Linked DNA regions of Homo sapiens: region 2 is linked to region 1. The links are contacts of gene promoters, found by promoter capture Hi-C in blood cells and fetal thymus (Javierre and others, 2016). All regions are on one chromosome and are shown on one strand. The core of a region is centred on a gene start or on the middle of the fragment in contact, and the rest is flanking DNA. Distances in the headings are between cores, read along the strand shown.

Region 1 (3,193 bases), core at 242-2,741:
GACAGTGACATCCTGGGGTCCGTCCATAACCCCCAATTTTTATTCTATGGATGAACCCCAGGATGTCAGTGTCTCTGAAATTTTATGCCATAACTATGTGCATATGCCATATGACAGTGGTGGGAGGGCAAAATGGTATAACTCCTATGGAGGAGAATTTGACAACATCTAGAAAATCACATATGCATTCACCCTTTGACTCATCAATCTTGCTTCTTGGATCCTATCTCAAAGATATAGTTGCAAAAATATGAAATGGCATATGCACACAGTTATTTGCAGCATTATTTACAATAGTCACACTGAAGCACCATCTAAATGTTCATCAAATTGGGGATTAATAAGAGCAACACAATGGATTATTATGCAGATGTACAAGAGAATGAAGAAACTAGAGAGTGATCTCTAAGACACAGAATAAAGAAAACGAGGTGCTGAAATTGTATATGGTCTGTCATCTTTTGTATTAGCAACAGCAGTGGGGAAAGGAATGTGTATGTGTGTATATGTAAACATAGTCATAAAAACTCTAAAAACGGAAAACAAACTGGCACAAATGAACCTAATTCCAAATGAGGTTGATATTGGTGTCTCAACCATACAGAGAAAAGAATTATTACAACTGACTTTGGAACACAGTATCTTCACTGTATTTCTTCAGTAGGATATACCTGAAAGACCAAAACGCTACACAGACATCTCAAAGTCATTTGAAGTGAAGTTAAAAAAAAAAAAAAAAAAAGGTGCACAGACTCCTGTTGCTGCTCCAGAAGGATAAAATGTGGGAAGGGAGGAAGGGGACCATTATCCCTAAAGAGAAAACTTCTGGCCTACCAGCGGGGCCAGGTCAGGGGAGGCTCTGTCTCGGATTTCTGGGCATATCAGTGGGACCCAGGCAAGGCCTGCCAACTCCCTTAGCATGTTCCTGTCTGTGAAACGAGGATAATACCCATCTCTCCTGTGGTAAGCAATGTTATTTTTCACATACACCAATAGGCATCTTGGCTCAACATAAGAAAGCCCTTTCCCACAGAAACAGCTGCCTCCAGCGTGAAGAAGGTGCCACAGAGATGGAAGGAGATTCCTTACCCACACCTGGGAGACAGCTAGCCAGCCAGCCAGCCAACTGGGCGGGGGCACCCGGGCAGGGGTGCCAGATACAGTATTGTATCTGGCAACCTCCCGGGGCGCTCAGTGTGGTTTTCCCACCCGGGAGTCTGGAAGGGTCTCCCGCAGCCCGCAGGAGACGCAGCGCTCCCCGCTCAGGGGGAGCAGGAGGACAGCTGGCCGCTTTCGGGAGCCCCAGGCGCGAAGCGGCCTCTCTCCGCCTCAGGTGAGTCCTGCTCGACGCCCAAGGCCCAACGGTCAGAACCGCCTCTGCCCGCCGGACCCAGCGAAGCTAGGGGAACAAATCCCAAAAACAGTTCGGGCCTTTCCGGTGCGCTCACCCCTACACACGCGCCTGCTCGCCACCCAGGAGCGGCGTCCCGTTGCCAGGCAACGAGAGCTCGCGCCTCAGGAGCCAGTGTAGGCGCCGCAAAGCGGAAGGGGCGCGCGGATAGGTGAGCAGAGGGCACGCGGTGGGCAGCGAAGGGGGAACGCGCAGCAGAGAGGAGAGGGCGTGCAGGAGTAGGAGCAGGCGGCAGAGTAGAGGGGGCGCGGCAGAGTAGAGGGGGCGCGGCAGAGTGGAGGGGGCGTGCAGGAGTAGGAGCCCGCCGCAGAGTAGAGGGGGCGCGGCAGAGAGGAGGGGGCGTGCAGGCGCGGGGCGCCCGGCAGAGAGAAGGGGTCGTGCGGAAGGGGGCGCGCGCCAGGGGAGGGGGCCAGAGAGGAGGGGGCGTTCAGGAGTCGGGCCTGCGGCAGAGATGAGGCGGTGTGCAGGAGGGAGAGCGCGCACGAGGGGGCAACGGGCAGAGAGGAGAGGGAATGAAAGAAGGGGAGCGTGGCAGAGAGAAGCGGGCGCGCTCCAGGGGGCGGGGTCCAGGGAGGAGGGGGAGCGTAGGATCGGGGCGGGAGGCAGAGAGGAGCGGGCACGCGGGACGGGCGTGTGCTCGTGAGGGGTCGAGGAAAGGCGTATGTGGAGGCGCGCGGGGTGGGTGAGCCGAGGAGACTTGCTACACAGAAACCTGGAGGAGTAGGGGCACACAAAAGAGCAAGGGACCCTGACTGGCAGCCCGGCATGCTCTGGGAGAGACAAAGAGGTGGCGGGCTTTGAGGAGGAACCAGGAAGGGCAGCCAATCGGAAAAGGGTGGAAGACCTTCCAGAGTCCCTGGAAGACCGTCACTGCAAGCTGCTAATAGCTTGGCAGTTTCACAACTCTGCACCTTTGCTCTTGCTGGTGACCTCTGCTTGGTTCCTTTCAGAACCAATTCGGGTGCCCCACCACCGGGAAGCCGTCCAGTCTCCACCAGGCCCAAACCCTTGCAGTCTTCCCTGGCCTAGTCGTCTGTGCATGTGCTAGCCTTTCCTGTGCTCTCTTTCAGCTTATGGGCGGGGCAGTGCCAGGCAAGAGAGGCCTTAATAGATGTTAGTTGAGCTAGTAAATGCCAGATTGGGCGTGGAAAAATCAAAGGGAAGCATGAGGGCAGGTGGCAGAACTCTCTCAATGAATAAGTCAAGAAATATTTACAGAGCTCCCAGTGTGCCAAGCGTGGGCGGTATACAGTAAACAAAGACAACCCCTATTCTTATCACCTTGCCTACTGAGTGCAAGTCCAGGAACTGTGTAAGCAGACCCTCAGAGGAGCTCTGGGAAACACTGAAAAATAGCCTCTCCCCCCATTGGTGAGTGTACCCTAAGTTGGTCTGAGTGGGCTTTAAAAGGCATCCCCTTGGCCAGGCGCGGTGGCTCACCGCCTGTAATCCTAGCACTTTGGGAGGCGGAGGTGGGCGGATCACCTGAGGTGAGGAATTCAAAACCAGCCTGGCCAACATGGAGAAACCCCATCTCTACTAAAAATACAAAAATTAGCCAGGTGTGGTGGCGCACACCTGTAATCCCAGCTCCTCAGGAGGCTGAGACAGCGGAATTGCTTGAACCAAGGAGGCAGAGATTGCAGTAAGACGAGATTGTGCCACTGCACTCCAGCCTGGGCGACAGACCAAGGCTCTCTCTTAAAAATAAAAAATAAAAGGCATCCCCTTGACTCCTTCCCCTCCAGCCCTCAGATTATGGCTCTATGCTGGCTCTACTGT
Region 2 (3,193 bases), core at 328-2,827, 280 kb after region 1:
TTTTTGCATGAAGCCCCCAAGGCCTTCTGGGGGGAAGCAGCGGGGTGCATCCTCCCTCTTGCATGGGCCAGTGTTTATTTTTCAGGTGTCCTGTGGCGAAAGGGCTCCTCACTTCCTTCCTTGTCTTACTCTTCTTCCTTTTCTGCTTGTAGAGCTTGGCTGGGGAGGGGTGGCTGGCTTGGATGCCTCTTGCTGTAAATCCTGGGCAAGGAGGAAATAGGTGGCCCCTGGTTGCGCCAATTGTCTTTAAAGGGTGCAGCATTTGGCAGTGTGGTTGCCTCTGTGTCCTATGCCTTGGGCACAAGGGAAGTCTCGAGTGTGCCCTGGGAGGCAGGAGAGTGATGGGAGGGGAGCCTGACTGCGGCTCGCTCGGGAGTGGCTTCGGGGATTGGGGAGAAGTCACAGGTGTGCTGAGCCTCTCAGGGTCATGGAGATGGGCAGCCCAGCCACTCTGTCCCCATGCCTGTCACTGATAGTGTGGAAAGGGTAAGTCCATGGGTGAGCAAAGGGACAATGTGTTGCAATTCACCTCTCCTCCAGAATAACAGATGCTAACAGGATCCAGCATCTCCACAGCTATTCTCTATGTATGAAATGAGTTTGAATACTTTATTCAACTTGAAAGTCATAACATACCTTCTAAGTATTTGGGTTATGATCATCTAAATGTCAAAGGACACTGGAGACCTTGAGGGCTTGGCTGGAAATTCCATAGCCAGGTTGGCAGAGGTCGGGGGTGGGGGTAATCCAGGTCTTCTGGCTTCCCCTCCTCTTCCCACCTACTTGCCTCTGGAACCTGTTCTACATCACGCCTCCTATATCACCCAGATGACAGCGGCTTCCTGAGAGCATTTCAGGGGATTGCTACCAGCATATCAACGACTCCAAGGCCAACCAGAATTCCAAATTGTGATGAAACTGCATTGTGTAGGAGTGCAAGTCCTTAGAAAGTTTTGATCTCTGAGCTGAAGTGAAGCTTGATTCTATGCCCCTATTAAGAAACTTTTTGCCTGGTGTCCACAGGTATTTGGAAGAAGTCTTTTTACTTTTTAAGGGAAACCCCTATTTTTAGGTGCTTATTTATGGTACTAGAGAAATAAGTGAGTTAGTCATCAGCAGCCATTCTGGACTAGTCTTTAAAGCAGGCCTCTTAAGGCTTTTCACAAGCCTGTTGACTTATATTTATAATCAATAATGCTATAATCACAGCTCACTACTAATTCCTTGCTTACCCAATTAATCCAAATCACCCTGGCTCAATGTGGAGGAAAGCATGCTCAACTCACGTCCTAGTAGAAACTCTGCCCCCAGGCTCACGGCGGGTGGCGCTGGGCCAAGATGCCCTCTCTGTGGAAGGAGGCATGTGCTTGGCCAGCCCTTGGGGCTCTTTCCTTCCTGCCACCCTGGACTGTGTGGATGGCATGTGCACTGAGCCACAGGGTGAGGGGCAGGGAGGAGTGGAGAATCGTGGGGGAGGCAGTCGCAGAACCTGCTGTGTTTTTTTGTTTTTTTCTATTTTAAATCAGGAATTATTAGCCGAGAAGATGCAGAAGCTCTCCTGGAGAACATGACTGAGGGAGCATTCCTGGTCCGGGTCAGTGAGAAAATCTGGGGTTACACCCTCTCCTACCGCCTGCAGAAAGGGTTCAAACACTTTCTTGTGGATGCTTCTGGGGATTTTTACAGCTTCCTGGGAGTGGACCCCAATCGCCATGCAACGCTCACGGATCTCGTTGATTTCCATAAGGTATCCCTCACAGGGATACTAATGGGGGGGAGGGGGAACTGGTGGAAATTGGAGCTGAAGAGAGAGCTAGAGCAAGAGAAGCAAGGCTGCTGGCTCTGGGCAGTGGGGCTGGAGGGTCTCAGAGATGTAGAGCATCAGGGCAGAAGAGACCAGAGGTTGTCCACACGGGGCCCGAGGGCCCACTGTTCTGCTCTCTGCTTCACTCTCTGGGGCATGCGGGCACCTCTCACCCTGGTCCTCAGGCCTCTTCTCACCTTGGGTACCTGAGTGCTCCCTCCTGTTAACACAAGGACTGGATGATCATCCCTTTCTCCAAGCCTGGGTCTCATCTCCAACTCATTCCCAAGAACGTCTCTCATGAGGACCTCCAAGCCAGACCTCTAGCAGCTTCTGAGAGTTAGCTGAAGTGCAGTAGGCAACCCTGTGATTAGAGAAGCTTTTCTAGTGGTGGAGTTACCATGTCTCTTATTTGAACTCCAGCTTAACCACTTAGTACATGTGTGACCTTGAGCCAGCACCTTAGTCTCACCAAACGTCAGCGTCCTAGCCAGGCAAATGGATGTGAATAATACTTAGCTCGGACCCTGTGAGCATTAAATGAAGTCAAGTACAGAGCAGCGCTTTGTGACTGTGAAGTGCTTATGGAAAGTCTTGTTTCTCAGCATTCTTTTTGTTATTTGTCCTCCTGCCATGGACCCTATATTGGAAAAGATGTTGTCTTCCAAGCAGTGTATGTAGTAAGAAGCAACGTTTATGTTCGTGTGGCCGTTGGCATCATTAGTAACTGGGAGAAAGCCAGAGGTGGAACTCAGTGACCTGGAAGGGCAGGACGAAGGATTCCGAGGGGCAGAGTGGTGGTAGCTCCGGCGTCCGACATCTAACCAAGCTTTGTGGGTGTAGATGGTTTCACAGAATGACTTGACGGTCTCACTGGGGTTTTGGTATAATAGGGACTCTTAGGTTTGTATTGCTTTCTCTTTGTCTCTTCATGGAAGTCCCTAGAAATTCAGGGACAGCCCTTGACCTTATGAATAATACACATGGAGAATCACCTATTCACAGATACTCGGGCACTGAGTGTGGAGTACTGCCTGGAAACTGGACTAACCAGGATCAAGGTTGATTTCTACGTGTTGGAAAGAGCCTTCTAACAGAGGAAAGCGAAAGGGAGGGGATGTGAGGACATTGACACATTCTCTGTGTCAAGCACTGAACCTATTGCTCTACATCCATGCTCTTATTTAATCTTACCAATAGATCTGTGAGGGAGGCATCTTTTTATTTATTTATTTTGTTCATTTTTTAAATTATACTTTAGGTTCTAGGGTACATGTGCACAACCTGCAGGTTTGTTACACAGGTATACATGTGCCATGTTAGTTTGCTGCACCCATTAACTCGTCATTTACGTTAGGTATTTCTCCTAATGCTATCACTCCCCCTTCC

The links. The method cuts DNA at HindIII sites, captures the fragments that hold promoters and counts their contacts. A CHiCAGO score of 5 or more calls a contact.
Region 2: a contact is called between a fragment that was not itself captured here and the fragment with the promoter of DYDC1 in region 1, in 1 of 17 cell types (non-activated CD4 T cells). The highest score is 5.3, in non-activated CD4 T cells.

Annotation. Positions count from the first base shown.
Region 1 is chr10:80,355,264-80,358,456 of GRCh38, forward strand. DYDC1 (DPY30 domain containing 1) reads right to left here and starts at 1,492. Exons shown (of 7, transcript NM_001269053.2): 1 at 1,449-1,492. DYDC2 (DPY30 domain containing 2) reads left to right here and starts at 1,518. Exons shown (of 5, transcript NM_032372.6): 1 at 1,518-1,562; 2 at 2,630-2,782. The HindIII fragment of the contact is 3,945 bases long and covers 1-3,193 here.
Region 2 is chr10:80,632,759-80,635,951 of GRCh38, forward strand. It overlaps SH2D4B (SH2 domain containing 4B), which reads left to right. Exons shown (of 8, transcript NM_001388272.1): 7 at 1,527-1,747. All of the region lies in intron 1 of LOC105378387 (a long non-coding RNA gene), which reads right to left. Among named protein-coding and RNA genes, the nearest start is that of LINC02655, 15 kb to the right of the region's middle. The HindIII fragment of the contact is 1,207 bases long and covers 975-2,181 here.